Regions from separate parts of the Homo sapiens genome. Here regions 2, 3, 4, 5, 6 and 7 are each linked to region 1. Evidence: promoter capture Hi-C in 16 types of primary human blood cells and fetal thymus (Javierre and others, 2016). All regions are on one chromosome and are shown on one strand. Each heading gives the region's core, a stretch centred on a gene start or on the middle of the fragment in contact. The rest is flanking DNA. Distances are from core to core; before and after follow the strand shown. Region 1 holds the start of CELF3 (CUGBP Elav-like family member 3). Region 2 overlaps PI4KB (phosphatidylinositol 4-kinase beta). Region 3 overlaps PI4KB (phosphatidylinositol 4-kinase beta). Region 4 has its middle 7.7 kb from the start of RFX5. Region 5 holds the start of SELENBP1 (selenium binding protein 1). Region 6 has its middle 8.9 kb from the start of PSMB4. Region 7 overlaps POGZ (pogo transposable element derived with ZNF domain).

Region 1 (4,367 bases), core at 631-3,130:
TGTGTAGGGAGAGAAGGACCATGTGACCGCCAGACAAGTAAGAGTAGTGTGGCTTTCTCTCCTGCTGAGCTGTTCTCCTTTCCCCTCTCTCCCTCACCTCCACCTCCCTCCATCTTGATCACCATCATCCCTCTCTTCTCCCATTTTCCCTATTTCCTCATCTCTCCCCACCTCCACCATAGGCAGGTGGAGGACGGAGAGTGAAATAGAGAAGGGAAGGGAAGAACAGTTAGTTAGCCGGAAGTGCCTCTTCCCTGTGCCAGGTGGAGGGGGAGCTGGTGTGGCCCCTGGGATCCCCGGTGTGTGGAGCTCTCCAAGTGCTGACCCTGACCGCCCCCACTTAGCCGCACAGCCCTTGGATAGGCCTGAGGAGCACCCTCCCTTCTCCCCCACTCTCTTAACTTTCTAAGCCTCCCACACTTTCCAGATCTTTACCAATCTCCAGCCTTCATGCCCTGCTTCCTAGTCCCTCTCTTTAGTCCTGGAGCTGCCCTGCCCAGTCCAGCTCCACGCTTTCCACATTGAACACCTGACCCTGTGTCCTGACCCCCATCCCAATATTATCTGAGGCTGCTCAGATTCTCAGTCTTGCTGCACACGCACACACACACACACCCCTACCCAGCTGCTTATCTCCCAAACCAGCTCTCTTGTCCCTCCATTCTTTCTTGAGTTCATCCCATGACATCAACACACCCATATGTCTGGGATCCACATCTTTGCAGCCGTCTTGACAACTCTTCAGCCAAAAGAGGCCCTCCTTAGTCCTTCACCGGGGTTTCCTGATCACTCTAGCTGAGTTCTTTTTCAGCTCCTCCATCCACTTTCCTCAGGCCTGAACTCTTCTCCTTCCACATCAGCCCTTCCCAGCCGCTCCACCCCTCCAGCCTGGCTTAACTTCCCCCAGCCTCCCAGCCCACCCCGAAGCCTCTTCAGCCTGCCCGACCCCTCACCCTTGTGCAGCCCGGTGTACTTGTCCTTGATGACAGTCAGCTCAAAGATCCGACCAAACTGTTCGAAGATGGGCTTCAGGTCCTTCTCCTCCAGATGCCTCGGGATCTGCCCCACAAACAGCTTGATGGCATCCGGCTCCTTCATTGAGGCGGCCCAGGAGGAGGGGCCGAGGGGAGCAGGGAGAGGCCCAAAGGCCAAGGGGAGCTGCCCAGCAAGGAGATAAGTGGTGGGGCCCGGGGGCCCAGCTGGGGCTGGCTTTCCCTTTGGCCCCCAACCACGCTGCTAAGCAGAGGGGCGGCTCTTCACACAAAGGAGGCCCAGGGAGTTGAGTGCTAGGGGTCAGGGGTCTAGGCAGACGCTGTCATGCCACCAGGGGGCATCGCCTAAACAAACGATCTCCCTCCCAGAGATCTGGCAAATGTCCCAGGATGGGGGTGAGTATGGCCAAGACCTGGAGGGTTAGGTGGTAGCCGGGGGTGCTAGGGCTTAGAGGGCTGGGAACTGGGAGTTGAGATGAGAGCTGGAGGCGGGGAAAGGGCCTGAGGAGGGTGATGGGGAGGAGACTGAGGGGTTAAGGGGCCTGCTATGGTTGCCAGCAGCGTCAGTAAGGGGGGCCCACTCCTGATGTGGGGCAGGTGAATCTCTCGTTGGCTTCCCTGGGAGGACACCTCCCCTGTGGCGGATCCTTCTGCTGGGTCCGAAGATCCCTGATGCCAGATGCTTGATCTCTGATGGCGGCAGGGCTCCAGGGGTCCCTTTTGCCCTGCCGCCCCCCTTCAGGTCCTCCCCTCAGCCCCCCTCCCACCCCCACCCCAGTCCCCGGGCCTGGGCTGCTGCCGGCTGCTCCCGCCGCTGGGGCTGCCTGCTTTCCCGGTCACCTGGGTCCCGGAGCTCTGCTCTCCGGCCGCGCTCTCCTCAACAAAAACCTCCCCCCTCCACACCCCCCTCCCCACTCCCACCTCCTTTCCCCTGACATCAGTGATGTCAGTCTCAGGGGTCGAATACAAATTCTCTACCCTGGAGAGGGACGCACAATCCAGGCACGAGCCACGCCCTCTTTCTATCTCCATCCTCCCTGACTCCCTTCCCGCCCCCAGAAGAGCAGCTGGTCCTGTTGATAATAACCCTTCCCCCATCTTACTCCCCAGTCAGGAGTTGGGCAAAGCACTAAGATGGAGAATTTATAGAGGAACCCTAAAGTGGGGTCCATTGTTCCGGGGGCTGGAGCTGTCCCCGGTGCTGGAAGACTCAGCAGATGGGGGGTGGCGGGGAAAGAGGGGAGCCCGGCATCTGGGGAGCCCCAAGAGTAGAGAGTCAAGGAAAGAAATCAGGGGAAAGAAAAATGAGAAAGGACGGTTGCATAGGCTGAAGGGAAAGGAGATATAGATGGAGAGGGAAGCAGGTCGCAGAGTCTGGGGGAAAAAGAAAAAATGCAGAGAGGAAAAATGGAAAGGGACGTGGAGAAGGAGGAGCAGGATGAGAAGAATGCAGAAAGAGAACTGTATATTTTCCAGAAAAGGAACCAAGAAAAACGATAGCTTTCTGGCATTTGCCGATGCCCCCTTCTCTCCCTCTGGGGGGTTTGTGTGTATAAGTGCGTGGGCAGGGAGGCCGCGGAGGCGGCGCCGCGGGCGCTCTCACTTGTAAGCTCCTTGAAGACCAGGACACCGTTTAATTCAGCATCTTACTGTTCACAGTGTCTAGCACCCTGTCTTGCTCATGCGTAGCAGGAGCTTAACAAACACTCCATGCAAACAACCTCTGACAACAGTGGATTCCTGATTCCTTCAGTGGGAAGAACCACAGCTGTCAAGCTTCCCCTTAGGATGCAGAAACCCAATTACTCTTTCCTTTGCTTCTTTCTTCAGTTGGGTTCTTTGAGTTGGACTCAAATTGAGCCAGGTAGCACAGAAGAGCAGGGGAGGCACATTCGGGGACCATTGCTCCCCTGACCATGGATACTTCTATGGATGATTGGCAGGCTCCACGATCTGGAGGGAGCGTGACCCCTCCATGCACTGGGCCCACTCAGAGCACGCCCTCAGTGCAGGGATTATCTGTGGACATCAAACCTTGTCAGTGGTGGTAGCCCTTGCTTTCTGTCAGTGCTCAGCAACGGGGGCTCTCCTGGGGCTCTGGGCTTTTGTAGAGCACCCTGTCTTCCTGTCATTCCCTTCTTCTCCCCCGGGGTAGGGCTGCTGTTTCCACAGAGGCACTCGTGTCTCTAAACTGTGTCCCAGCTGAGTCCCAGGGGCCTCCATTCCTGAGCTATCACGGCAGGCAGGCTTCTCTTCTGGAAGGGAAATAATAGTAACAGCCAGTGCTTACATGGCTCTTACAGTGTCCCAGGCTTTGTGCCAAGTGCTTTATATTTACTAACTCCTAAACCCTCACCACCCCCCTATGATGTAGATTTTGTCATCTCCAAATAGAGAGGAGGTAACCAAGACACAGAGCTGAAATAACTTGCCTAAAGCCATGCAGCTAGAAAGAGGTCTAGCTGAGACTGGAGCCTGGGCAGTCTGGCTCCTGAGTCCACGCATTTAACTCCCACATCAAACATTCCTCTTGAGAATGGGAGCAGTGGTGAAGTCTGGCCTTTCTTCCTCTTCTGTCTCCATTTAAGCCCTGGATGAGAGAGAGTCTTTCTTTTTACTGCTTGATTCTGTGGACCACCTCCCATCCTTCCTTAGCCTGTTTTTTTGTTGTGGCCTGGAGCCACGCTCTGGCAGGTGCTTGCATTTGAGTGAATGTGTATGTGTGTAGACTTGATTACACTTCATCACATGGATGCCCGGGTCCCCCAAGTAGGGTCCCCTAAGATGGGGTGGCAGTGGGGGGAGGTGCTAGAGGACTCAGTGGTGGGTGCTCAGAAGAAGCGAATGACGGCAGAGCCAGGGAATCAAGAAGGGCACACACATCTTGAAAGTAACTTTCCACTCACCTACCCCACCCCCACTGCTCCTTTCCTTGCCTTCTAATCTGATCTTGGTATTTATGGAGATGCTAAACAGATCATGTCCTCTGAGGATGGAGAAGGGGAAGACCCTATGGCCCTGTTGATCTCATTACTCTATGTCTTCTCAGCAGATCTGCCGCCCTGCTGCTCATTCAGGCTTGGGGCTAATCATATTAATTGAAATATTAAACATTCACAAAAATGAATTAAAATGAACTCCCCTCACTCCTCCTCCCAGTCAGTAATTGGGGAGACAGCTGCAGACAGCAAAATGCGTCCAGTCCTTTGCTTAGTTTGTGGTCCCCAAAGGTGTCAGTCTGAGAGAAGAGGCAGGGTTTAGAGGAGAAGAGTTGTACCACTCATCAGACTCTCCTTGCTGAGTGACGGTGAACACATCTCTGGTGTTCTTTCAGGCCATGGGATGGGAGTCCTGTGAGGTAAAGGCAGGGGAGCC
Region 2 (4,367 bases), core at 976-3,475, 420 kb before region 1:
GGAGGCTCTATTCTGAGCCTGTTTACCTGTGGGTTATTTGTAACTCCTGTCAGCCCACTGCAGATCAGAGGCCTCACTGGAAGGGAACAACAACAGAAGCAAGCAGGCTGAGTGGAGCTGAAATGTAAAATAGCGTGGGGGCTTCAAGGGGTAAGTTTTAAATCACTTACTTAAAAAGTCTCAGGATGAGGCAGTACTACAGGGCAGCTGTAGAAGAGTTAAAGGGAGATAAATCCCAGGTCTTTGTGATTCCCACATGAATGGCCAGTAGCAGAAGGAACAATTAACATGCTAAGCATGTGAGGCCTGGCCTATTCAGCATAACTGGCCTACTCAGTGTCAATAGAGGCTTTGTTAGGCTAAGAGCTGATGGTCTGAGGGCCACCTTCTCTGGGGTTGGTTTGGCCAAAAGAGGAGGGACAAAAGGAGAACCTAGTCCAACCTGAGTTCTTCCCCACTCAGGGAAAACACTAAAGATTTAGCAATCCAGGCACAATCTTGTGAGCCAGAATGGTTCTAGGAGTTGTCATGGTTCAACCTCACATTTTACAGGTGAAGAAAACAGAGGCCCTGAGAGAGGAAGTGATTTACTTGCCCAAGGTGCCATAGCCTCTCTTTTCACTACCAGAGTTAGCTCCAGCTGGAAAGCTGCTTAGGACTACTTTTGAAGCAGTTAAAGAGATCCTAAAACCTGACTCCAGTATGGGGCCTCATTCATTGTTGCCACTTCTTTCCATTGGTTGATTCCATTCATGGCTCGACTATATCTATTCTTTTTTGAGGTACTATGAACGGCTTATCAGCTACCTGCCCTCCTCTATCCCTTCTTTTTTAGAGGATGGACTCTCATCTTCCAAACATACTAATTCCCTAAAGGAAAGCCCTGGGGCCTGACTAGTGCCAGCTTCCCTGCCACCCATTTACTCAATCCCAGGACTGAGCTCTAGGCTCCCTGGGCCCTGAGTTCAAAATCCTGACACTTTGAGATAGTCTGAAGCTTGCAATCAAATTCCTTATAAATAATTGCATTCTCGGCCGGATGCAGTGGCTCACGCCTGTAATCCCAGCACTTTGGGAGGCTGAGGCAGGAGGATCACCTGAGGTCAGGAGTTTGAGACCAGCCTGGCCAAGATGGTGAAACCCCGTCTCTACTAAAAATACAAAAATTAGCTGGGCGTGGTGGCGCATGCCTGTAATCCCAGCTAATCAGGAGGCTGAGGTGGGAGAATCACTTGAACTCTGGGAGGCAGAGGTTACAGTGAGCCGAGATCACGCCACTGCACTCCAGCCTGGACAACAGAGCAAGACTCTGTCTCACACACACACACAAAAATATTACATTCTCCTACAGCTCTCAAATGCAGAGCCTGGGTCCATTTGTAGGGCTGGCAGGGTGGAATGAGCGCAGGGTGGAATGAGCACAGGGTCTAAAAGCTACCTGACTGTTATTTCCCTCATGAGGAAACACGTGTCTGACAGGGTTTTCATCTGGTTTAAATATAAGAATGTCAGGCCATGGCAGAACTTAATAGATGCTAGATTTCTTTTTTTTTTTTTTGAGATGAAGTCTCACTCTGTCACCCAGGCTGGTGTGCAATGGTGCGATCTTGGCTCACTGCAACTTCTGCCTCCTGGGTTCAAGTGATTCTCCTGCCTCAGCCTCCCAAGTAGCTGGGAATACAGGCGCCCGCCACCACACCCAGCTAATTTTTTATTTTTAGTAGAGATGGGGTTTCACCGTGTTGGTCATGCTGGTCTCAAACTCCTGACCTCAGGCGATTTGCCCACCTCGGCCTCCCAAAGTGCTGGGATTACAGGCGTGAGCCACCACACCCAGCCTAAGACTAATTTTTATTTTTTTTTTTGAGATGGAGTCTCAGTGTCACCCAGGCTGGTGTGCAGTCGCGCGATCTCATCTCACTGCAACCTCCACCTCCCGGGTTCCAGCAATTGTCCTGCCTCAGCCTCCTGAGTGGCTGGGATTACAGGCATGCGCCACCACGCCTGGTGAATTTTTGGTATTTTTAGTAGATATGGGGTTTTGCCATGTTGGTCAGGCTGGTCTTGAACTACTGACCTCAGGTGATTCACCTGCCTCAGGCTCCCAAAGTGTTGGGATTACAGGCGTGAGCCACTGCATCCAGCCTAGATGCTACATTTCTAATAAGCTGCTCTGTTAGCTAGCTAGCTAGCTAGTTGTTTTGTTTTGTTTAGACAGGGTCTCACTCTGTTGCCCTTAACCTCCTGCTCAAGTGATCCTCCCACCTCAGCCTCCAAAGTAGCTGGGACCACAGCTGTATACCACCATGCTTGGCTAATTTTTATTTTTTGTAGAGACGGGATCTAACTATGTTGCCTAGGCTAGTCTCGAACTCCTGGGCTCAAGCGATCCTCCTGCCTCGGCCTTGTTGGCTAGATTTTTTTTTTTTTTTTTTGAGACTCGCTTTGTTGCCCAGACTAAAGTACTGTGGCATGATCTTGGCTCACTGCAATCTCCACCTCCTGGGTTCAAGCAATTCTCCTGCCTTACCTCCCGAGTAGCTGGGATTACAGGTGTGCATCACCAAGCCCAGCTAATGTATGTATGTATGTGTATGTATATATATAAATTTTTTTTTTTTTTTGAGTTGGAATTTCACCCTTGTCGTCCAGTCTGGAGTGCAATGGTGCCATCTTGGCCCACTGCAACCTCTGCCTCCCGGGTTCAAGTGATTCTCCTGCTCAGCCTCCCAAATAGCTGGGATTAGGCGCCTGCCACCAGGCCCAGCTAATTTTCTTTTTGTATTTTAGTAGAGATGGGGTTTCACCATGTTGGCCAGGCTGGTTTCAAACTCCTGACCTCAGGTGATCCACCCGTGTCAGCCTCCCAAAGTACTGGGATTATAGGCATGAGCCACCACACCCAGCCATTATTAGCTAGATCTTAATGGGCCACCATGTTACTGGAAGCCCCAGCAGCACTGGCCATTGCATTTCCACCTTTCCAGGACAGCTGCCCTGTGCCGAGGGTCTAGAGCTGGAACTCATAGGAGCATTCAGGGCAGAGACCCTGGGTCACTGTTGGGAGATACTCTTAGAAGGCAGGGCCTAGATGGTGTAATTATTTTTGTACATTATGTGCCTCACCTATATGTGTAGTTAGTTTTCATCAAGGTCATGTCATATTGAAAAAAAATGACAGCTCTGGGCAAAACAACAGATACTTAAAAGCTGTGGAAATCATATGCTGGAATAAGAAGTGAGGAGAGTTCATGGCTGAGAGTTTCCACTTCATCTCCATCATGTTTCTCCTTTCTGCTCTCAGTCACTAACCACTACCCTTAGTGCCAGGCCCTATTATCTCTTGCTTTGTTGCTAAACACCCAATTACATCCACCTTCACCCACAGTGCCACAGGGCATTTAATCAACACAGACTGGATCATGTCATTCCTCTGCCTGCAAAATAAAACACCTAAGCTTCACAATGAAGGCCCTTCTTCAACTGGCCTCAATTTACCTGCCTCATGGTACCACCTCCTACTCCACTGCCATGCAGTGCAGTCTGTGCTTTAATCACATTCAATTATTTCTTCTAGCTGGGATGTACCTCCCCTGCAGCTTCCTCTGTCATCATTTTCCCTTGTCCTTGAAGACCCTGCTCACTCAAACCCTTAGTCCTCCCATAAATCCTTCATTTCTTTGCCCTTTTACCCTAGTTCTTATTAGTCTGCCTCCTGACTTAATGTCATGGGAACACATCTGTCTCTGCTTAAAATACATTGTTTCATTTTTCACATCTTTGCCATGGAGGGCAGTAATAAGTAATTGAGAACTACACACGAAGGGACAGAGAGAACCCTGGAGAAATGTTAGGATGAGCAGCAGAAGTCACCTACCTGTCCTTGACTTGCAGCAGGTAGCAGACCAAGCAGTACCCAGCACAACTTTGCACAAAATTGCGCTGTGCACTGAGGAATGCCTCAGTGGTGTAACTGCCGTGCTCCTGTAGGAAGTAATCGAGCAAGGAGAGCTGTGACTGTTTCTTCACCTGATGGATGGACACAGCATTGACCACTGGTTCAATCATGCCACTATCAGCCGAAATCACAAGAATCTTGTATGGCTTGATCCAAAGGGGCACTCGCTCCTGTTCCCAAATGGACTGTGAGGAGACATGGAGGATACAGGACTCTTATCTTTCTCCAAACTAGAGAAGAAGGCTAAAACTCTTCCCTTTCTCCAGCCTCTCTCCTTGGTAGCATTGAATTCTAAGCCATCAAATGAGTAAGACTCACTTAACCCAGTGAGGACCAGGGAGTTTGGAAAGGAAGTCTAGGGCCTGACAAAGTCAGAAACTACACTCAGGTATGTGGGAAAAGGTATCAC
Region 3 (4,367 bases), core at 1,261-3,760, 400 kb before region 1:
CTGTCTCTCAGCATGGTTGTGAGGATTAAATGTAAAGTACTTGGCAAGATGCCTGGCACATAAGTGCTGAATAAATGTTAGCACTTTTAGCTTTACCATTATTAAACTATCCTAACAAAATTCCAAATTTCCAGAGAGCAGGCTCTATAGTCTCCCTCCCTCTTCCTTTTCTCTAGTCACTCTGACTTCCCTCTATTTGAAAGAAGTCCCATTGTATCAAAAACGTGGGTGGGTTATATGCCCCACAGAGGCAGATGCCAAGACCATAGCTATCCGCATTTTTCAAAAAGTGCAAATTCCTCCTTTTTTTCTCCCTCTTTTCTAGGCTGGGTTGGAAGCCAGGATGGGAGCCTGGCCAATGGTGAGTCAGAGGGGAGGACTGGAGCACCATTGTCTGGCTGGGACACCAGGTCACTGACACTTGGTAGTCCACTGGGCAGCTTTCCCTGCTATCTGTCCAGATGTGGAGTGAAGAGTGGGTATAACCTATTCATGTGGCCACCTCTTCCCTGCTCTATATCCTAAGTTATACCTCCAACTGCTGCTGTAGCTTCCTCTTCTTCCCAGCCTCCAGGTCCTTGACTAGGCACTATATTTACTCTATACTAAGAGTGCTTTCTCTTCCCTTTGTGCTTCTCCCAAATGGTATGGGAAAGATACCAGCAAGGCACTCTTCCCCCTAAGGAAAGGCAGGCAATGAAGGCATTCTCCAGATGCCTCAGTGATAAGAAATAAACCTTACACTTATGTCAACAAAAGGTAGGATCTTCAGAGGGTAGTGAAAAGGGATTAGATTATGAGGAGGAGTGGCCAGGAGAATGAAGCCGATGTTCTAACATCTCCCCTACCCCAGCACACAGAAAGACAATAGTACCTTTTCCTTTCCCACAGATGCTGCTCTGAGAGGCTCTGGTAGCTATCTCAAGTCTCAGGTCAGGGTGTGGAGGGCTTCTGCCACAGTTCTCATTAACATAGTAGATGTTAATGGAATGGCAGTTTATTTATTTATTTATTTATTTAGAGACGGAGTCTCACTCTGTCGCCCAAGCTGGAGTGCAGTGGCGCGATCTCTGGTCACTGCAACCTCTGCCTCCCAGGTTCAAGTGATTCTCCTGTCTCAGCCTCCCAAGTAGCTGGGATTACACGCGCCCACCACCACGCCTGGCTAATTTTTGTATTTTTAGTAGAGATGGGATTTTGCCATGTTGGCCAGGCTGGTCTCAAACTCCTGACCTCGTGATCTGCCTGCCTCAGCCTCCCAAAGTGCTGGGATTACAAGCGTGAGCCACCGCGCCTGGCCAGTGCAGTTTAATAAAAATGATTTGGGACACAGTCAGGAGCGTCAGCCTTGCCATGACCTATATGACCTGAGGCAACTCACTTTATCTCTCTGGGTCTGAGTTCTTCCTTTGTAAACTAAGGCAGGCAAAATACATGAATTCTAAGGCCTTTCCATTCTAACATTCCATGCTTTTATCAGTGAAATGAAACAGGGAGGACAGAAAGAACAGCGTAACCCTGTGTGTATATAGGAGGCATCCTGTCTCCATGCAGCCCTCTACCACCTTTTGTCTCTGGCCCTCCCCAGAATTTTACCTCATCCTCATTCTCCACTTTAGGGTTGCTGGCTGTTCGTTTCAGGTTGCTGCTGAGACTTATGCTGGCAGTGGCATCTGACTTAGAGCGCTGGTGAGTCCTTTTGGAGGGAGACAGCCCTGTGTCAGGGGCCGGGCTCAAGGAGGGCAGCTCCCTCTTCCTGTGAGCTGGCTTTAGCTCATCTGAGAGGATCAGCTTCCGTAGCTTGGTCCCACGGGAGTGTCGTTGAGTGGAAATGTGCATGTCTGAAGAATAGGCCCCAAGCAACAGGGCACACTGGAGGGAAAAGTTAATGCTCTGGCGGCAACGGTGGACTATGTAGGGCTTAATGGCATCACCCACGTCCTCATCCATGTGGATGTACATGTTAAGCAACTGGGGCAGATAGAAGTCCACGTCCTCGTTGCGAAAGCAGAAGAGCCGGTTGCCAATGTAGGCTTGTACTCCAGGCTCCTTGGAGTTATACAGGTATGAAATGGCCATGGAGATGTCAAACAGTTTTGACTCAAACAGCCTCAGCAGCCAAGACTGTTTAGCTGAGTTGTTCTGCCGCCGTCTTCTTGCTCCTTTGGCTGTGCCTGAGGCCACAGCGGCCCCCATCTCATCTTCCTCCTCCCTGATCTGGGCAGGTGGATCATCTAGGCAACGGATCTCACTGTCCACACCATCCCCATTGACCAACTCCAGTGGGGTGCCTCTGCTAGAGACTGCCACGCCTCCATGCAAAAGCTTGACTTTCTCCAACACCTCCTGGCAGGCCTTCTGGGCCACCTCAGGGTCAATCACTGATAGTTCCCCGACCCCCTCCGTGATGACACTTAGCAGGGACCCCCCATTATTCCCTGGTGGGCCAGAAGTGGGCTCAGAAGTTGGCTTCAAGGGGGCAGGCTCCACTACTGTATCTCCCATGGCCACAGCCAGACTTCGAGCTTCCAAGCTACAGGAAGAGGGAGGGAGAAAAGAACAGAAAGGGAGACACATACACACATTGGTTAGTGGTGCCATCCTCAGATCTTCCCTTTGCTATGACACCTTCCCAGGCACCTCCTCTTTTTGTCTTCCTGGACTCCTTCAAAATCAGATAAGAAGACATATCCTAGGAAGCTTTCCTGACTACCTCCACTTCTGATTACATTACTCGTCATTCCTCCTGTAGTTACTCAGCTTAGCCTCTGTTCTTAGCTTATATATGTGAAATGTTGTTTTGTATATGTTGTATTTATATAGATTTACAAATTCTTTTTGTTGTTGTTGTTGTTGTTGTTGTTGAGACGGAGTCTCGCTCTGTCACCCAGGCTGGAGTGCAGTGGCGCAATCTCAGCTCACTGTAAGTTCCGCCTCCCGGGTTCACACCATTCTCCTGCCTCAGCCTCCCAAGTAGCTGGGACTATAGGCGCCCACCACAACGTCCAGCTAATTTTGTTTTGTATTTTTAGTAGACACACGGTTTCACCATGTTAGCCAGGATGGTCTCCATCTCCCAACCTCATGATCCACCCACCTCGGCCTCCCAAAGTGCTGGGATTACAGGCGTGAGCCACTGCACCTGGCCTACATTTACAAATTCTTTTTTTTTTTTTTTTTTGAGACAAGGTCTTGCTCTGTTACCCAGGCTGAAGTGCAGTTGAACAATCTGGGCTCATTGCAACCTTGACCTCCTGGGCTCAAGCAAGCCTCCCACCTCAGCCTCCCAAGTAGCTGGGACCACAGGTGCACACCACCATGCCTGGCTTATTTTTAAATTTTTAATCTTATTATTTTTGAGACAGGGTCTTGCTCTGTTGCCCAGGCTGGAGTGCAGTGGCGCGATCAGAACTCACTGTAGCCTTGATTTTCTGGGCTCAAGCAATCCTCCTACCTCAGCTTCCCAAGTATCCAGGACTACACGCATGTGCCTCCATGCCTGGTTAATTTTTTAAATTTTTCTGTAGAGACAAGGTCTCACCATGTTGCCCAGCCTGGTCTTGAACTGAGCTCAAGCAATCCTCCCTCCTCAGCCTCGTAAAGTGTTGGAATTACAGGCATGAGCCACCATGCCTGGTGATTTACAGATTCTTCGGGTAGACTGAGAAGCAAGTCAGGTGTTACTCCCTTGTTCCCTAACTCTTCAAATACTTTTCTATCCACTTGCTCTTCCTGTCTCCCTTTAAATGCCTGCTATAACCTTTTTATTTTCCACTTTAGACTATATTTCCTTACTCATATAACATTCTACACACAGGTCCTGTGCATCTCACCTTTATTTTTATTTTTTAGAGACAAGTCTTGCTCTGTTGCCCAGGCTGGAGTGCAGTGGCATGATCATAGCTCACTGTAACCTTGAACTCCTAGGCTCAAGGCATCCTCCTGCCTCAGCCTCCCGAGTAGCTAGGACTTTAGGTGTGTGCCATCATGCTCAGCTAATTAAAAAAAAATTTTTTTGTGCAGATGGCGTCTTGCTGTGTTGCCCAGGCTAGCTTTGAACGCCTGGCCTCAAGCAATTCTCCTGCCTCAGCCTCCCAAAGCACTAGGATTACAGGTGTGAACCACCTTGCCCAGCCATCTTTATTTAATATTAAAGTCTTGGCTAGGCGCAGTGGCTCACGCCTGTAATCCCAGCACTTTGGGAGGCCGAGGTGGGCAGATCACGAGGTCAAGAGATCGAGACCATCCTGGCCAACATGGTGAAACCCCGTCTCTACTAAAAATACAAAAATTAGCCAGGCGTGGTGGCAGGCGCCTGTAATCCCAGCTACTCAGGAGGCTGAGGCCGGAGAATTGCTTGAACCTGG
Region 4 (4,367 bases), core at 807-3,306, 360 kb before region 1:
TTTTATATTTTTGGTAGAGATGGGATTTCACCATGTAGGCCAGGCTGGTCTTGAACTCCTGACCTCAAGTGATCTGCCCATCTTGGCCTCCCAAAATATTGGGATTACAGGCGTAAGCCACTGTATCTGGAGCTTTTTTTTTTTTTTTTTTTTTTTTTTACCACTGCACTCCAGCCTGGGTGTCAGTGAGACTCTGTCTCAAAAATAAATAAAGAAAGAAACAAATGAACAGCTGGGCACAGTGGCGCATGCCTGTAATCCCAGCACTTTGGGAGGCTGAGATGAGTGGATCACTTGAAGTCAGGAGTTCAAGACCAGCCTGGTCAATATGGTGAAACCCCATCTCTACTAAAATTATAAAAATTAGCTGGGCTGTGGTGGCGTGTGCCTGTAATGCCAGCTACTTGGGAGGCTGAGGCGGAAGAAACACTTGAACCTGGGAGGCGGAGGTTGCAGTAAACCTAGATGGCGCCACTGCACTCCAACCTGGGCAACAGAGTGAGACCCTGTCTCAAAAAAATAGGTAAAAATAAATAAATAAATAAATACAATACAATACAATAATAAAAAAGAATACAAAGACAAGCTGCAAATTGGGAGAATATATTTTCAAGACATATAACTGACAAAGGATTATTATCTGGAATTTTTGAAGACTTCCTACAAAAAAAGATAACCAGCTGGGCATGGTGGCTCACGTCTGTAATCCTAGCACTTTGGGTGGCTGAGATGGGCAGATCACTTGAGGCCAGGAGTTTGAGACCAGCCTGGCCAACATGGTGAAACTCTATCTCCACTTAAAATACAAAAATTAGCATTAGCTGCGCATAGTGGTGCACACCTGTGGTCCCAGCTACTTGGGAGGCTTAGGTAGGAGAATCGCTTGAACCTGGGAGGCAGAGGTTGCAGTGAGCTGAGATCGCACCACTGCACTCCAGCCTGGGCATCAGAGTGAGACTCTGCCTCAAAAAAAAAAAAAAAAAAGAAAAGAAAAAGAAAAAAAAGATAACAAACTAGAAAAATGGATGGGAATTTCACAAAAAAAGCAGAAATGGCTCATAAACATATGAAAAGTTATTCCCTATGTAATAATCAGGAAAATGCAAATTTTAGAAGATACCATTTCACACCCACTAAATTGGCTTTTTTTTTTATTTGAGACAGGTTCTTGCTCTGTCACCCAGGCTGGAGTGCAGTGGCGTGATCATGGCTCACTGCAGCCTTGACCTCCTGGGCTCAAGCAGTCCTCCCACCTCAGCCTCCCGAGTAGCTGGGATCACAGGCACGGTACCACACCCAGCTAATTTTTTTGTATTTTTTGTGTAGACAGAGTGTCACCTTGTTGCCCAGGCTGGTCTTGAACTCCTGAGCTCCAGCGATCTGCCCACTTTGGCCCCCCAAAGTGTTGGGATTACAGGTGTGAGCCACAGCAAAAGTTTTAAAGTCTGGCAATATTGAGGGTTGACATGGTTATGAATCAACAAGCGCTTTCATTCACTGTTGCGGGAGTGTAATTTGGTAAAACTGTTTTGGAAAATAGTTTGATATTACCTGGTGAAGTCGAATATGTGAGTATTTCAATTTACATTTAATATCTCAGTAATCCTGCTCTTAGACATATGCCCTAAAAACACAGGCAGTAAAGTTTATAGTCTCACTGCTTGCATTAGCAAAAACTGGAAATGACCCAATATCCGTCAACCCTAGAATGATAAGTTGTGATATATTCACTGGATGGAATGTCATAGAGCAGTGGAAATTAATGAGCTACAGCCACACACATCCACTGGATGAACTTCAGAAAGTGAAAAAACCAAAACCCAGAAGAAAACATACAGTGCAATGCAATTTATAAATATTTAATATCAGGCAAAACTGAACAATATATTGTTTATGGGTAAATACATAGGTGGTAAAAATAATTAATAAAAAGCAATAGAATCATGACCATAAAATTAAGGATAGAAGTTACCTATAGTGAGCAAGGGAAAAGAGTTTGGGAATGGTTGTTTGGCAGTTAGTAACACCTTACATAGCATCTAATTTAATATGCTTGTTTTCCAATGAATGGCCAGCCATTTCAATATATACTATCATTTTCTTCTTCTTTTAACTGTTTCCTTTTACAGTTTTATCATATGCTTTTATTGTATACTAAGTTTCCTTGTATAGTTAGGTGTATTTCTGGATCTTAGCCTCTCTTTTTAAAAAAATTTTAATTTAATTTTATTTTTTTAAGACAGAGTCTCACTCTGTTACCCAGGCTGGAGTGCGGTGGCAGGATCCTAGCTCACTGCAGCCTCAAACTCCTTGGCTCAAGTGATCCTCCCACCTTGGTGACCTGAGTAGCTGAGATTATAGGCGCATGTCTCTTTTGTTGATTCTTTTTGTCTATTTCTCCACCCATAACACACTGTTTTAGTTAATGTTTTGAAATACTATATTTCAAAGTATAGTATATTTTGAAATCTAATGCTGAGAGTCTTCTGTTATTGGTTTTATTAACTAAAAAAATTATTCCTATATATGGAAGATTGTATTTTCCAAATGTGGCCACAATGTTTCTGGTTCCACACACTGTTTCAGAACCTTACAACTTCCCTGTCAAGAGGTGGAGTCGGCCGGGCATGGTGGCTCACACCTGTAATCCCAGCACTTTGGGAGGCTGAGGCAGGTGTACCACCTGAGGTCAGGAGTTTGAGACCAGCCTGGCCAACCTGGTGAAACTCTGTCTCTACTAAAAATACAAAAAATTAGCTGGATGTGGTGGCGGGTGCCTGTAATCCCAGCTATGTGGGAGGCTGAGGCGGAAGAATTGCCTGAACCCAGGAGGCAGAGGTCGCAGTGAGCTGAGATCATGCCATTGCACTCCAGCCTGGGTGACAGAGTGAGACTCCGTCTCAAAAATAAATAAATAAATAAACAGATAGATACATAGATAAATAAATAAATGAAAGAAATGGAGTCTAGTCCCCTGTTTCCTTGAACCTGGGAAGGCCTTTGTGACAGGCTCAGTAATTGGAATGTGGTGGAAGTGATGCTGTGTGACTGTCAAGTGTCGGCTGGAGTAGGTGACACACCTTCACATTTGCTGCTCTCTCTTGGAACACTCGCTCTTGGAACCCAGCTACCATGTTGTGAGGGAGCCAAGCAGCCATATGGAAAGGTCATGTGTAGATGTTCTGGCCCCAGCTGAAGGTCCAAGTGACAGCAGCATGAGTCTCCAGACATGTGAGTAAGTGAGCTATCAGATGATTCTAGCCTCTAGCCTTTAAGCTGCCTCCACTGACACCAAGCAGAGACAAGCTGTTCCTGCTGAGCCCTGTCCAAACTACAGATCTGTGGGCAAAAGTAATGTTGTCATTGCTTTAAGCCACTAAGTTTTGGGGTAGTTTGTTACACAGCACTAGGTAACTGGAACAGTATACATTCGCATTTCCAGGCTAGTTTTAGAAAGAGCTTGTCAAGTTTCATAAAAAATCTCACCCCTCTGAGGTAACATGTTCTGATAAGTATCCTGCCGTATTCACTTCCATGTCATTGCAAACACAGGGCCACTTAAATAGAGGTTTTGTTTTGTTTTGTTTTCTGAGATAGAGTCTCGCTCTGTTGCTCAGGCTGGAGTGCAGTGATGCAATCTCGGCTCACTGCAACCTCTGCTTCCCAGGTTCAAACGATTCTCCTGCCTCAGCCTCCTGAGTAGCTGTAACTACAGGTGTGTGCCAGCATGCTCAACTAATTTTTGTATTTTTAGTAGAGATGGGGTTTCACCATGTTGGCCAGGTTGGTCTCAAACTCCGGGCCTCAAGTGATCTGCCCTCCTTGGCCTCCCAAAGTGCTGGGATTGCAGGCGTGAGCCACTGCGCCTGGCCTTAAATAGAAGTTTTTGTTGCTATTGTGGTTGAATTTGTTTTTAAAACTGGGGATTATACTATAGTTATAGAATTATTCACATAACTCTACGATTACTTTTTTTCATGAACAATGTATTGCACACATTCCTCTAGGTCAGATAGTATTGAGAGTAGAGAGTCTGCCACACATCAAAATAAGGAAGTCAGGGAAGGGACTCCTAAGAGCATGCCAGAGGAGGCACAGAGCAGATATCCAGAGCATGGAGCCAGCTGGTCAAACACTTGGAAGATGAAAGTGGGAGGACTGGATGCAGGAATGTGAGAAGGAGGACCTCACTAATCCCTGAGATGAGTGCAATTGCCTGATGCTGTCTTTTAGAGACTTACTGGAGTGCAGTGTGTGAGATAATGCTTGAAGGACCAACGATGGGATAGAAATCTCCCAATGCTCTCTTATATCCTTTGTCCTGGTGGACTGGCACTACAGCTTTTCTGAGGGTGTCCCTGAGCTCA
Region 5 (4,367 bases), core at 1,072-3,571, 340 kb before region 1:
CTGATCCCAGGCTGCTAGCCAAGGGCTGGATTACATAACCGAGGGTCTGGGGCTAATACCAACTGGAAGTCCTCAGGCTGGTTTCTACCCCTGGGTGTGCCCCACTTCCTTTATCTGTAAAGTAAGGTGTTTGGCCCAACTCTGGAGAGCCCAGAGGCCTGCCCACCAGAGAGATAGGGAGCAACCCTCCCTATCTCTGAAGTCTGGCAAGAGGGGCCATGCTAATCTCCAGGATGTAAGTCAGCAGATGTGCAGTAGGGCTGGGACATCACAGCTACCAGCACCCCAGCATCAGAGTTTGGGGCCTGCTGGGGAGCAGGGGTTAAAGAATACCCAGAGGGGGTGGCAGGCTGAAAGAAACCCTGGAGTGGAGTCCACAGGCCTGGGCCCTGTCTCCTGCCTTGTCCTGTGGCCAGTCCAGCCTCTGCCTTCACAGCTGGGCCGCAAGTGGGGAGCCAGGAGTAGGCAGAGTGGGGCCTCCACTGGGGCCTGGGACTCCCACTCGCAGCAGCCAAGAGACTTAGGAAGCTGAGAGGCAGCAACAGCGTTCAGAGTCTGGAAACCTGGTTTCAAGTCCCAGTTTTGACGCCCCGTTTCTCCATTTTCTCCTCTTCATTTACGAAAAGTGGGCAATAATGATATTCTACCTACTTTGCTAGGTAGATATGGAGGACAAATAAGACAATGTATTCCAAAGGCCTTTCATAAAAATGAATTAGGCCGGGTGCGGTGGCTCATGCCTGTAATCCCAGCACTTTGGGAGGCTGAGGCGGAAAGATCACCTAAGGTCAGGAGTTTGAGACCAGCCTCACTAACATGGCAAAACCCTGTCTCTATTAAAAATACAAAAATTACCCTGTATTAAAAATTAGCCTGTATTAAAAAATACAGGCATACACCTGTAATCCCAGCTACTTGGGAGGCTGAGGCAGGAGAATCACTTGAACCTGGGAGGTGGAGGCTGCAGTAAGCCGAAATCACGCCACTGCAGTCACTCCAGCCTGGGCAACAAGAGTGAAATTCTGACTAAAAAAAAAAAAAAATAATGAATTACTGTGTAAATATGGGAAGGGCTGTGCCAGAGGAGAGGAGAATGCCAGGGAGTGCTCGATGCCCAGCGAGAGGGCTGGAGGTGGGGCAGGGAGAGAGAGAGAGGTCCAGTTCACAGGAGTTAAGGAGACTGGTTCTGTTACACAATCTTGCTAAGTCGGGGCTTGGCACCAGATGACAGGGGGTGGGGAAGGAGGTTGCTGGATACAGAAGGGAAAGGAGATTTTAAAACTCCAAGACCTCAAGACAGAGATACAAAAAATACAAAGCTAGGGAGAAGCTGAGAGGGAAGTAAAAGTGCAGAGATGGAGCTGCCCGCTCTGCAGCCTCGGCCCACCCCACACCCCAGCAACCCCAGCCCCAGCATTTCTTAGGGTCAGGCCTGGCATGCCACTGCAGCCCCAGGGAGCATCATTCCTCTTTCTGGGGAATACCCCCATCTGAAACATCTCAAGCAAGGTCTCGGAGCAGCTTTGGGTTTGGGATGGACTCATGGAAAGCTCAAGTGGGTTTTCCATGTCAGGCTGGCTGCTGGGCATTCTGCCAGCTCGGCATTCTGCCAGCTCAAGAGCCAGCCCCGAGCGGGGAAGGACCTCCCAACCAAACCTCAGTTCCTTCTTAGCCTGTCACCCAGAAGCCTACAGATGGAGGAATAGCAGGGCCAAGGGGGATTTAGGGGTGGGGGAGGCATTGAAACAGGTCCCCAGTGAAAGAGTGTGGGGGTCTCTGATTTCCCTCCCAGAGAGCTTTGCTGTGTGGAGTAGCTAGAGAGTGACCTGGGCACAGAAAGGCTTTGGACTCCCTACCTCGCTGGAGTACAAAGTTGGCCCATGGCTGAAATCAGGATCACCTCTCTACTATGTGAGGGCCAGGGACCTAGTGGTGTTTTCTAAGAGCGCCCATCTGATTTTCCCAGCTGCAGAAAGGCACCCTGGTCCCAGCCTCTGCTGGATGGAGCCAAGTCAGGGCCCAGGATCCCATCTCCCAGCAGTGCCTCTGCCCGTCTTCCTCAGAAAGTTTGGCTGAGCTGGGAAATGCAGTGGGGTGGTGGGGGAGGGGGTGTGCAGACTGGGGACAATGAAGCAGAGTCCACTACTCCCTCCCCAGCTCCCCACTCAGGTTTTCTAGCATTTTCTGGAGGAGGGCCTTCCAAATTAGGGGCAGACAGAGCAGGCAATGGGTGATTGGAAACCCCTCTCCTTACCCATGCTGCCGACTGGTACACTTTGATCCCGGCGGGTTTGCTGTGCTGGTGTCAGAGGCCGCTGTTCCGGGGAAGGAGCGAAGGGAGGGAATTTATACAACCAGCTGGGGGTGGGGCAGAGAAGGAGGAGGGCCCGGGCTGTAGCCCAGAGTAAACTACTCAGGGCAGCTGGCCAGGATACTCTCAAGTGGCCTAGGGCAACTGGTGTTTGAATTATGGGGTGTGCGTGTATGTGTTTAAGTGTGTATGTGTGGGAGCCTGTGCTTTATTTATTTATTTATTTATTTAGAGACAGGGTCTCACTCTTGCCCAGGCTGGAGTGCAGTGGTGCGATCTCGGCTCACTGCAACCTCTGCCTCCTGGGTTCAAGTGATTCTCCTGCCTCATCCTCCCGAGTAGCTGGGATTACAGGCACCCACCACCATGCCCAGCAATTTTGTATTTTTAGTAGAGAAGGGATTTCACCATGTTGGCCAGGCTGGTCTCAAACTCCTGACCTCAGGTGATCCACCCGTGTCGGCCTCCCAAAGTGCTGGGATCACAGGTGTGAGCCGCTGCCCCTGACCAGCTCGTGCTCTTTAGTGGGTGCCTGGGTGTGTGTGGATTTGTGTGTCTGGGCATGTGTGTGTTCCTGTATACCTGCGTGTTGCTCGTGCACGTGCCTGCATGAGTGTGTATCTGTGCCTGTGTGTGAATTTCCACGTGTGTGAATGTGCCTGTGAGTGTGCTTGTGTGTATTTGTGCGTGTGTGTGTGTGCGCGCCTCTGTATGTGCCTACCAGAGTATCTACGCCTGTGTGTGTGTGTGTGTGTGTGTGCGCGCCTCTGTGAGTATGTGCTTGCTAGAGTATCTACGCCTGTGTGGACATGTGCATAAGTGCTTGTGTATGTGTAGTGTGTGGCTATGTGGCTGTGCATGTGCTTGTGTAAGCCTGCGCACGTATGTGTTCCTGTGTCTCCAAATGCTCGTCTTTGTATTTGGACCTGTCTCTTAGCATTTAGGGGCACCCGGGACTGTGGGCCCATCAGCCAGGGTCACTTCTTCCCTAAGATTGCCCTCTTATTCCAGATATTCATACTCTTTGGATAAAAGCTCTGGGGTGAAGTTTTTATTGGCTAGGAAAAAGAATAAAGTCTGGGCTTGAGATTGCAAGTAGAATACAGGGTTTCCAAACCAGAGTGGGGGAAGGGGAGCAAAATTGGGCCTTGGTGCATTGGGTATCTGTCTTCCTGGCTCCCATCAGTGAGGGATCATGTGCCCATCAAGGAAGACTCCCTGTGGCTGCCCGGGGCAAGGGTCTTCTCTTATCCCCAGCGCCACTCAACCCCTCTTGGCTCCATCCTGCATCTATTATCCTCACCATTGTGCCATCAGCCTGCCAGGCATCAAAGAGAGTCTTGTGTGTGCAGCTGCCCCACGGGGAAGGCCCTGAAGGCTGCTTCCTTGTCTTTGCCAGCTTCCTCCTGTCCTGACTACCTCCACTCACCCTGCCTTCACCCTTCCCTCTGGCCCTCCCCTCTTCCTCCTCCTGAGGTCTCCATCTCCTGCCTCCTCTCTATTCTCCGGCTTCTTGGCTTGGGTTAGTCCACCACCCAAGATCTGAAAGAGAAAGAAACTTTATCCCCACCTTCTCATAAAAAATTATTGAGTCATTAACTTAAAAAAAAAAAGGCTGTTATTTTGTTTGTTGTGGTCTGTCATTGACTACCTCTTTCATGCTCCTGAGCTCTGACCTGGCTGGTCTCTGCAGCAACTCCATGGCACCCCTCACCTCTGCCTGTGGTTTTCTCCCTGAACTCTTGCTCTACAGCCAGCAGGTGGTTGGGGAAGTTATCCTAATCTGGGCTACAGAGGGAGGCAGTAAAGGTAGAGGGGCGATTCTCCTGCCTCAGCCTCCCGAGTAGCTGGGACTACAGGTGCCCACAACCATACCTGGCTCATTTTTGTATTTTTAGTAGAGACGGGGTTTCACCATGTTGGACAGGCTGGTCTCGAACTCCTGACCTCAAGTGATCCACCCACCTCCGCCTCCCAAAGTGCTGGGATTACAGGCCTGAGACACCGTGCCTGGCTGACCTGGATAATTTTTAAATTTTTTTTGTAGAGATGGGGG
Region 6 (4,367 bases), core at 1,240-3,739, 330 kb before region 1:
GCTACTCAGTAGGCTGAGGCAGGAGGATCACTTCAGCCCGGGAGGTTGAGGCTGCAGTGAGCCATGGATTGCACCACTACACTCCAGCCTGGGTGACAGAGTGAGACCCTGTCTCAAAAAGAAAAAAAATGGTTAAATAGTTCATAATATATCTGTGCTGTGGAATATTGTGAAGCAATTACAACAAGTTAAGTAGACTATACAGGGGAGGAGGGCCAAGACATTTGAGAGCAAAAAGCAGGCTGCCAAACTGTATATAACACGATTCCATTCCAAAAAATAATTCTGTTTGCATGTGGATAAAAACAGTCTAGAAAGACACAAGATAAAAATGAAGGTTACTTGGGAAAAGAGTGAAGTTGGGTAATTTTTACTTTGTATATTTATTTATTTGGGAGAGTTTTGCTCTTGTTGCCCAGGCTGGAGTGCAATGGCGCTATCTCGGCTCACTGCAACTTCTGCCTCCCAGGTTCAAGCGATTCTCCTGCCTCAGCCTACCAAGTAGCTGGGATTACAAGCACCTGCCACCACGCCCGGCTAATTTTTGTATTTTTAGTAGAGACGGAGTTTCACCATGTTGGCCAGGCTGGTCTCAAACTCCTGACCTCAGGTGATCTGCCCACCTCGGCCTACCAAAATACTGGAATTACAGGCATGAGCCACCACGCCCAGCCTTATTATTATTATTATTATTATTATTATTATTATTATTATTTTATTTTATTTTATTTTTTGAGACAAAGTCTCGCTGGGTAGCCCAGGCTGGAGTGCAGTGGTGCAATCTCGGCTCACTGCAACCTCCACCTTCTGGGTTCAAACGATTCTCCTGCCTCAGGCTCCCAAGTAGCTGGGACTACAGGCGCCCGCCACCACGCCTGGCTAATTTTTTTATTTTTTTATTTTTAGTAGAGACGGGGTTTCACTATGTTGGCCAGGGTGGTCTTGAACTCCTGACATCGTGATCTGTCCGCCTCAGCCTCCCAAAGTGCTGGGATTACAGGCGTGAGCCACCGCGCTCGGCCGTACCTGTCCTTCTTGGGAAGGCTTTCCAGGTATTTGAAGGGACTTAGGTGTTGTCATCTAAGCTGTCTCTGCATTAGGCGGCACCCCAAGCTCAGTAATGCTGTGGTCCCTGCAGCCTCATAGAGTACCACCTTGGTGGTCCTGAATAAGAGCCAAAATAATTCTCTGGATTACCAGGTAGAAATTCCTATTCTCTTCTTGTATTTTCTTCCAAACAAACAGAGTCTCTCTCAAAGTCTCAAAGCCATTTGTAGTGGCATAAGGATCTTGCCTGTGAATAGCCACTGCTCTCCAGCTTGGGCAACATAGTGAGAACTCATCTGTCAAAAAAAAATTTTATAGTAATGCTGAAATCTAAAATCGTATTATAACCTCTCTCAACCCACCATTTCCCTTTCCAGGGACCAAGTTACTCCCTTCCTCCCCTTTCCCCAGGAAAGCCTACTTCCTGCTTTAATTCCATTATAATTGGCAGATTTCATTTATTTTTATTTATTTATTTTGAGACGGAGTCTCGCTCTGTCGCCCAGGCTGGAGTGCAGTGGCGTGATCTCGGCTCACTGCAAGCTCCGCCTCCCGTGTTCTCGCCATTCTCCTGCCCCAGCCTCCCGAGTAGCTGGGATTACAGGCGCCCGCCACCACGCCGACTAATTTTTTGTATTTTTAGTAGAGACGGGGTTTCACCGTGTTAGCCAGGATGGTCTCGATCTCCTGACCTCGTGATCCGCCCGCCTTGGCCTCCCAAAGTGCCGGGATTACAAGCATGAGCCACCACGCCCGGCCGCTTTCATTTATTTTTTATTGCTGGAAAATGTTTCAGAAGTTCCTTACTTTTTTCCCAGAGTGTCATTATAAGTAAGACTATATAAAACTCATTTTCAACTGCCACTATGACTCAATTTTACACACATGCGCGCGCATCCCCCACCCTCGCCTGCCCACATTCTTAGTGTTGTTTTGTGTGTTTAAATTAGCGCAGATGGTACCATATCATATATGTCATTCTGTGGTTTATCTGGTTCACTCAACAATGTGTTTGATATGTTAGGTTCTTTCCTTTAAGCTACCTTGTAGTATTCTTTTGTAATAATATACTGCATTTTATCTACTCCCCCTTGATGAGCATTTAGACTGTTTCTATTTTTTTGCTATTACGAACAATGCTCTGATGAACATTCTTGAATGTTTCCTAACGTGTACATGTGAGTGTCTCTATGTTATAGGTTTATTGGGTAATTTAGCATGTGTAATTTTCAGTTTTATTAGGTGCTATCAAGTTTTTTTTTTTTTTTTTTTTTGAGACAGAGTTTCACTCTTGTTCCCCAGGCCGGAGTGCAATGGCACAATCTTGGCTCACCGCAACCTCCACCTCCCGGGTTCAAGTGATTCTCCTGCCTCAGCCTCCTAAGTAGCTGGGATTACAGGCACCCGCCATCATACCCGGCTAATTTTTGTATTTTTAGTACAGACGAGATTTCATCATGTTGGCCAGGCTGGTTTCGAACTCATGACCTCAGGTGATCCACCCGCCTTGGCCTCCCAAAGTGCTGAGATTATAGGCATGAGCCACTGCACAAAGCCTTAAACATTGCCTCAAACCTCAGTGACCTTTGCCTAGAGGTGTAAACCTTGACTCTAATCTACCCCGACTAAAGGACTATGACTCTGGAGCATAATCTTGGCAGGAAGCATGTTAGAACTGCCCTTCTCATTGCCAGTCTCTGATTTTATTTGTTTGATTTAGCACAGATTAGGGGAAAATCTGAATATCCATAATCAGACAGGTTCACTGGTCTGAGAAGGGTGTGGAGGTTGAGCACAAAATTTCCTCTCCCTATTCCAGAACTTGGGAGTTACACAGTTCAGTGAACCCTTGAAGGTAGAACATCAGAGGAACAGAGGGTACAGAACTGAATGTGTAAACTGTTGATCTTCTGGGCATTCCTGGTTGTGAGCTTTCCCAGTATGAGAGGTGCTCAGAACGGGGTGGGCCAGGCCTAGTGGTTCAGGGGAATAACGTGTTCTGAATGTGTGTTTATTCTTTTCAACTTTATTATTTTTATTTATTTATTTATTTGTTTATTTGTTTTGAGATGGAGTCTCACTCTGTTGCCAGGCTGGAGTGCAGTGGCGTGATCTCTGCCCACTGCAACCTCCACCTCCCTGGTTCCAGCGATTCTCCTGCCTCAGCCTCCCGAGTTGCTGGGATTACAAGCGCCCACCACCATGCCCAGCTAATTTTTCTATTTTTAATAGAGATGGGTTTTCACCATATTGGCCAGGATGGTCTCGATCTCTTGACCTCATGATCTGCCCGCCTCGGCCTCCCAAAGTGCTGGAATTACAGGTGTTAGTCACCGTGCCTGGCCTTATTTTTATTCCTTATTTTTGAGACAGAGTCTCTCTCTGCCACCCAGGCTGGAGTGCAATGGCACCATCATGGCTCACTGCAGCCTCGGCATCCTGAGTGCACGCCAGTCTCCCACCTCAGTCTCCTGAGTAGCTGGGACTGCAGGTGCACACCACCAGGTCTGGCTAATTAAAAAAAATTTTTTTTTGTAGAGATAAGGTCCCATTATGTTGGCCTTGAACTTGAACTGCTGGGATCAAGTGATCTGCCAGCCTTGGTCTCCCAAAGTGCTGGGATTATAGGCGTGAGCTACTGTGCCTGGCCTTATTTTAAGCAATGCCACCAAAGGGCTGAGGAAGGAATGAAGACTAGATGAACTAAAATTTCAGAGAGGGGAGAACTTTTCTGAGGTGAGTTGAGTATATACTTAGGATTGGGTTTAACCTAGACAGAATGCCTCTCCTTGGGAAGACCATCAAAAGTTTCTGGTGGCCATGCAAAGCAAGTTGGAAACTTAAGGGGCCTCTAACTATGGCCAGTTTTACCTATGGAATATTTGCTGAACACTGGGAATGTGCAGGAGCCTGGAGAGTCAGGCTAAAAGCTCCTAAAAGGCAGACTGAATCTCCTATGGTCTGGAATTATTGATTAAAAAATGAAGATCTGCTGAGGCAGAGCAGGGAGAAGAGCCTCAATTACTCAACTGGTCTTCTCCTCCTCAAGATATTTGCCAGATTTTGAGTCTGCATGAAGTAGAAGCCTGGAGAGCTAGCTCAATATCATTCCGTATTTCAGGGCAGAGAGGATGAATACCTGTCCAGTTTTCAATCAAAGGTTGTGAGAGGCCGGGCACAGTAGCTCACATCTGTAATCCCAGCACTTTGGGAGGCTGAGGTGGATGGATGGCTTGAGTCTAGGAGTTCAAAACCAGCCTGGGCAACATAGTAAGACCCCCATCTCTTAAAAAAAAAAAGAAAAAGAAAAGAAAAGAAAA
Region 7 (4,367 bases), core at 848-3,347, 300 kb before region 1:
TACAACCCAGAGTTCTCTCACAGGCTTGAGATCTATTATCCAACAGCTACACTTGACATCCACAGATACTGCTAACTTACAATATCCAAGCTCATGATCTCCCCCCTCACAAATATACTTTCTCTATTGTTTCTATTTCAGCAAATAGTTCCCTCATTCACCCAACTGCCCAAGACAGAATCTTAGGCACTATTCTTAACTACTGCATTGCTACCTTCACCTAATCCATCTCTACATCATAAATATCACAAATCTTCTGAATATCTCTCAACTCTACCCTCTTTTTATTTCAAAAGCCAATAGCCACTATCATCTCTCACCTAAACTACTGAAAAAGGCCTTCTAGCTAGTTTCCCTAACTGTAGTCTCAATCTCCTTTAATCCATTCTCTGCAGTGCAGGCAGTATAAAGCCTTAACTAAAGCTGAACACATCACTCCAGGGCTTAAAACCCCTTTAGTGGCTTCCCAGTGAATTCTTTTCATGGCTTAAAAGATCCTCCATGATCTGTCCCTGCCTAACTTCCAACCCCTCTGTCTCTTACACCCTACACTGAATCTCTCTCAATTTCTTGAACCTCCACAATTTTGCTTTGTGCCTTGGGCACACTGTTCTTCGTCTTATTTCATCTGGCTCATTCTTATTCATCCCTCAGGTATTGAACAACACTTCTTTCTGGAAGCCTTACTAGGCACCCAGAATAGCTATGTGATTTTCTATATCCTATAATTTCCCCAACACAGTACTCTTCATGTTTTATTGTATTGTTTGCCTTGTTTACTACTAAATCTCTAGCATCTAGACTAGTACATGGCACATTAAGTGAATTCAATAAATTTCTGCAAACATATGCATATTATAATCTCTGCCCAAATTATTTGCCTAGCTCAGCCCTGGCCCCAGCATCCATGTTTAAAAAAAAAAAAAACAAGAGAATATGGGAATTGCTTGGTGCCTAGTACCTGGTGCCTCATGTAATGCTGTTGGAATGCATTGCCATTTTTGAAGACCTTCAGGCAATAAGGGCAGAGCAGATGCCGGGTATCCTCATGGATCATCCGAAAATGGACATCTACCTCAGAGTAGAGTGAGGAGCGATATTGACACACCTGAGTCACATAGGAGGGAAAATAAGGCTAAGAATGAAGTGAACAACTGAGAGGCCTTAAAAAAAAAGGTAGCAACAAAAATTTTTAAATTAAAAAAAAAAAGTTTTCTCAAATGCATAGAAATCAAATTATTTTCCTGACTTTGTAATGCTGGGCTATGTTTGTGATAGGTTTAGCTATTACTTTAAAAATAGGAAGGGACAGAAAGTCTAAGAATAATCCATGTTCTCTAACTAAGAAAAATAAAGCCTTTTCTGTCAATTTCCAAAGGGCACGTTCAGGAGACAGACACTCCCTTAGAATATGCACATGTTCCCGGCTAGTCTACTTGTGGACATGTTCTTTTATGTTTTTCTCCTGCATGGAAACCCTGAAGATAAACTGTGTTTACTATTTCTTCTGTACCTACTCAGAGTTCCTAAACTGAGTGTATGCAGTAGGTGGTCAACAATATTCATTAGTAAATTCTTTGTATTCTTCCTGAGGGCAAAACTGCTAAAACTCCCTGGAGAAAAAGGCAATACCTGGCAAACATAAGGCATCTCTCCAGGCTTATGAGTATCCTTCATATGCTGGAGAAATAGTGGCTCACTTTCAAACGCCCATTCACAGATCTTGCACTTGGCTGTAAGAAGAAAAGTAATCAATAAATCCACTTGAAAATAAGACAAAAGTCCTGCTGACTCACAATCTTTATTTTCTCTGCCTCCTTTATTTTGATTTTCAACAATCAGTAAATCATAGGTCCCTTCTGTTCTTTCTTTAAATGGCTCCACCTTAACATATATGTTGCTGATAATCTTATGTACGTAGCTCAGACTTCTTACCAAAGCTTCATTCTAGATTTTATCTATAAGACATTTTAAATTGGTTATTCTATCGTCAACTCTAACCTAATTCAGCATCCTCCTGTCTTACCACTGTTTCCCTTTTTCCTTTCCCCATTTCTTCCTGAGCTCAAAATTTAGGCACTATCTCGGATTCCAAACCCTGCATTCTGTCACCATTATTTCAAACTGCATGTAGGAACTGTCACTTCTCTATACTTATAATAAGGCAAAAACTTGGTACTAGCCCATATGATTTCCCACTGCTAATCAGCTGGCCTCCAATACCTCCTACTCTCTTTGAAATTGTCCATTTTGTCAAGCTTATGAGAAAAAATTTTGACAAAATTTTATGACACAAATGAACAATTTTGTCAAACTTCTGAGACAATTTTTGGTAATTTCATGTTGGCCAGGTTGGTCTCGAACTCCTGACCTCAGGTGATCTACCTGTCCCAGCCTCCCAAAGTGCTGGGATTATAGGTGTGAGCCACCGTGCCTGGGCTTTTTTTTTTTTTTTTTTTTTTAAGAGACAGAATCTCACTGTTGCTCAGGCTGGAGCATGATCATAGCTCACCGCAGCCTCCTGAGTAGCTAGGACTATCCTTTGAGCTCAAGCGAGCCTCCTGTTTCAGCCTCCCAAGTAGCTAGGACTACAGTGGTGCACCACCATGCCCAAGTAATTAAAAAAAATTTTTTTTTGTAGGGACAGGGTCTCGCCATGTTGCCCAGGCTGGTCGGAAACTCCTGGCCTCAAGCAATCCTTTTGTCAATCCACTTCAGTCTCCCAAAGTGCTAGAATTACAGGTGTGAGCCAGTGCACCGGCCAATTTTGGTAAGACTTTTAACTGCTACATATTTTTAATTATACAGTATGGCAAAAAGAGAGAGATTATTTACATTTTTGTCACTTTAATGGAATTAGTTTCAAGTTTTTGCAAATATGAAAACTGGAAGCTTAAAGCCTTGGGCATTTACTGGACAATGTCTAACCTCCCCCCGCCCCCAGCCCCCTACACCCCAGCCAAAGAAATATGAATAAAGTTGAAATAATTCTTTTTTCTTTTTTTAACTACCGAGAACCCTGGATTTTTGTTTTGAGACAGAGTCTCGTTCTGTCTCGCACGCTAGAGCGCAGTGGCTCAATCATGGCTCACTGCAACCCTGACCTCCCAAGCTCAAGCAATCCTCCCATCTCAGCCTCCCAAAGTACCAGAATTACAGGTATGAGCCACTGTGCCTAGCCAAGTAATTTTTTAAAGTAAAACAAACAAACAAAAGCCAGGGGTTCTTAATCTGGGGTCTATGGAACAGGCCTCTAGGAATCCAGGCTTTCTCTGAAATTATTTGCAAAAGAGTAAAATGTAGATTTTTCTAGGAAGAGGATTCAAACATTTCATATTTATTCTCAAAGAGGTCTGCAACTCCATTTAGAAACACTGTCTACAGGTACATTAGGTGCTATGAGGACATGGATAAATAAGAAATTCTGCATAAAGGAATGAGGAAAAGCTATAACAACATATAAAAGCTGAATTGTCAAAGAATGGGGCTCAGCCAGCCAGAGAGAGGACCAAGAGAAAAGCAGGAGGAAAGGCAAGTAGGTATGAAAGTTAACCACATGTTTGGGAAACAGTTAACTAGCAACATAACGATATTATCTCTTTTCCACTCACCCCCCGATTTGTTTACCTCTCTCATTTTTCTCTTCTAGAACACCTTTAAGCAATATTTTGTCCAGGCCTTTCTTAGTCTATGTTTTCCCTGGGCAATCTCATTCACTCTTTCTCCTATAACCTATTTATCAGCTCTATTTTCACAGCTGTCATGCAACATCAATAATAAAAACACTTATTAAGCAATTTCTAATGTACAAGCATCAGGTTAAGATTTACATGTGTTGGCTGGGCACGGTGGCTCATGCCTGTAATCCCAACACTTTGGGAGGCCAAGGCAGGCGGATCACCTGAGGTTGGGAGTTCAAGACAAGCCTGACCAACATGGAGAAACCCTGTCTCTACTAAAAATACAAAATCAGCCGGGCACAGTAATGCATGTCTGTAGTCCCAGCTACTTGGGAGGCTGAGGCAAGAGAATCGCTTGAAGCTGGGAGGCAGAGGCTGCGGTGAGCCAAGATGGCGCCACTACACTCCAGCCTGGGCAACAAGAGCGAAACTCCCTCAAAAAAAAGAAAAAAAAGATTTACATTGTGTTATCTCAAGAAAACTAGTGAGGTAGGAACTCAAATATAAGGGGATTTAAGAGATCTCTGGTAACCTTTGACACATCAGTTCTACAGGGGAAGGAGCTAATACAGAAAAAGATTCAAGAGGGAAAATGAATTGATTCTCCATGGTGGCTGTCCTAACTGTCCCTCTGAGCACCATCACCCTCCTTAACACCTAACACAATCTCCTACTTTGAGGAAATAG

What was found. Contacts are between HindIII fragments. The CHiCAGO score rates a contact against its expected background, and 5 or more counts as called.
Region 2: a fragment that was not itself captured here is called in contact with the fragment with the promoter of CELF3 in region 1 in 1 of 17 cell types (erythroblasts); the score reaches 5.5 in erythroblasts.
Region 3: a fragment that was not itself captured here is called in contact with the fragment with the promoter of CELF3 in region 1 in 1 of 17 cell types (erythroblasts); the score reaches 6.7 in erythroblasts.
Region 4: a contact is called between a fragment that was not itself captured here and the fragment with the promoter of CELF3 in region 1, in 2 of 17 cell types (M1 macrophages and M2 macrophages). The highest score is 6.1, in M1 macrophages.
Region 5: a contact is called between the fragment with the promoter of SELENBP1 here and the fragment with the promoter of CELF3 in region 1, in 2 of 17 cell types (M1 macrophages and M2 macrophages). The highest score is 7.5, in M1 macrophages.
Region 6: a fragment that was not itself captured here is called in contact with the fragment with the promoter of CELF3 in region 1 in 1 of 17 cell types (M2 macrophages); the score reaches 5.4 in M2 macrophages.
Region 7: a contact is called between a fragment that was not itself captured here and the fragment with the promoter of CELF3 in region 1, in 12 of 17 cell types (M0 macrophages, M1 macrophages, M2 macrophages and 9 more). The highest score is 12.4, in M0 macrophages.

What each region holds. Positions count from the first base shown.
Region 1 is chr1:151,714,923-151,719,289 of GRCh38, forward strand. CELF3 (CUGBP Elav-like family member 3) reads right to left here and starts at 1,881. Exons shown (of 13, transcript NM_007185.7): 1 at 954-1,881. The coding sequence starts at 1,098. It also overlaps a transcript of RIIAD1 not described here. RefSeq lists an enhancer at 1,811-2,105. The HindIII fragment of the contact is 2,919 bases long and covers 1-2,766 here.
Region 2 is chr1:151,294,931-151,299,297 of GRCh38, forward strand. It overlaps PI4KB (phosphatidylinositol 4-kinase beta), which reads right to left. Exons shown (of 12, transcript NM_001369623.2): 9 at 3,878-4,143. Among named protein-coding and RNA genes, the nearest start is that of ZNF687, 15 kb to the left of the region's middle. RefSeq lists enhancers at 1-592, 593-1,575 and a silencer at 123-417. The HindIII fragment of the contact is 2,461 bases long and covers 996-3,456 here.
Region 3 is chr1:151,313,977-151,318,343 of GRCh38, forward strand. It overlaps PI4KB (phosphatidylinositol 4-kinase beta), which reads right to left. Exons shown (of 12, transcript NM_001369623.2): 2 at 1,597-2,533. The coding sequence starts at 2,505. Among named protein-coding and RNA genes, the nearest start is that of PI4KB, 11 kb to the right of the region's middle. The HindIII fragment of the contact is 375 bases long and covers 2,324-2,698 here.
Region 4 is chr1:151,352,787-151,357,153 of GRCh38, forward strand. No RefSeq gene overlaps it. Among named protein-coding and RNA genes, the nearest start is that of RFX5, 7.7 kb to the left of the region's middle. The HindIII fragment of the contact is 5,255 bases long and covers 1-4,367 here.
Region 5 is chr1:151,370,384-151,374,750 of GRCh38, forward strand. SELENBP1 (selenium binding protein 1) reads right to left here and starts at 2,322. Exons shown (of 12, transcript NM_003944.4): 1 at 2,255-2,322. The coding sequence starts at 2,258. RefSeq lists enhancers at 1-258, 259-929, 1,676-2,259, 2,260-2,843. The HindIII fragment of the contact is 17,083 bases long and covers 1-4,367 here.
Region 6 is chr1:151,388,484-151,392,850 of GRCh38, forward strand. No RefSeq gene overlaps it. Among named protein-coding and RNA genes, the nearest start is that of PSMB4, 8.9 kb to the right of the region's middle. The HindIII fragment of the contact is 9,586 bases long and covers 1-4,367 here.
Region 7 is chr1:151,410,664-151,415,030 of GRCh38, forward strand. It overlaps POGZ (pogo transposable element derived with ZNF domain), which reads right to left. Exons shown (of 19, transcript NM_015100.4): 11 at 1,633-1,733; 12 at 962-1,108. Among named protein-coding and RNA genes, the nearest start is that of PSMB4, 13 kb to the left of the region's middle. The HindIII fragment of the contact is 318 bases long and covers 1,939-2,256 here.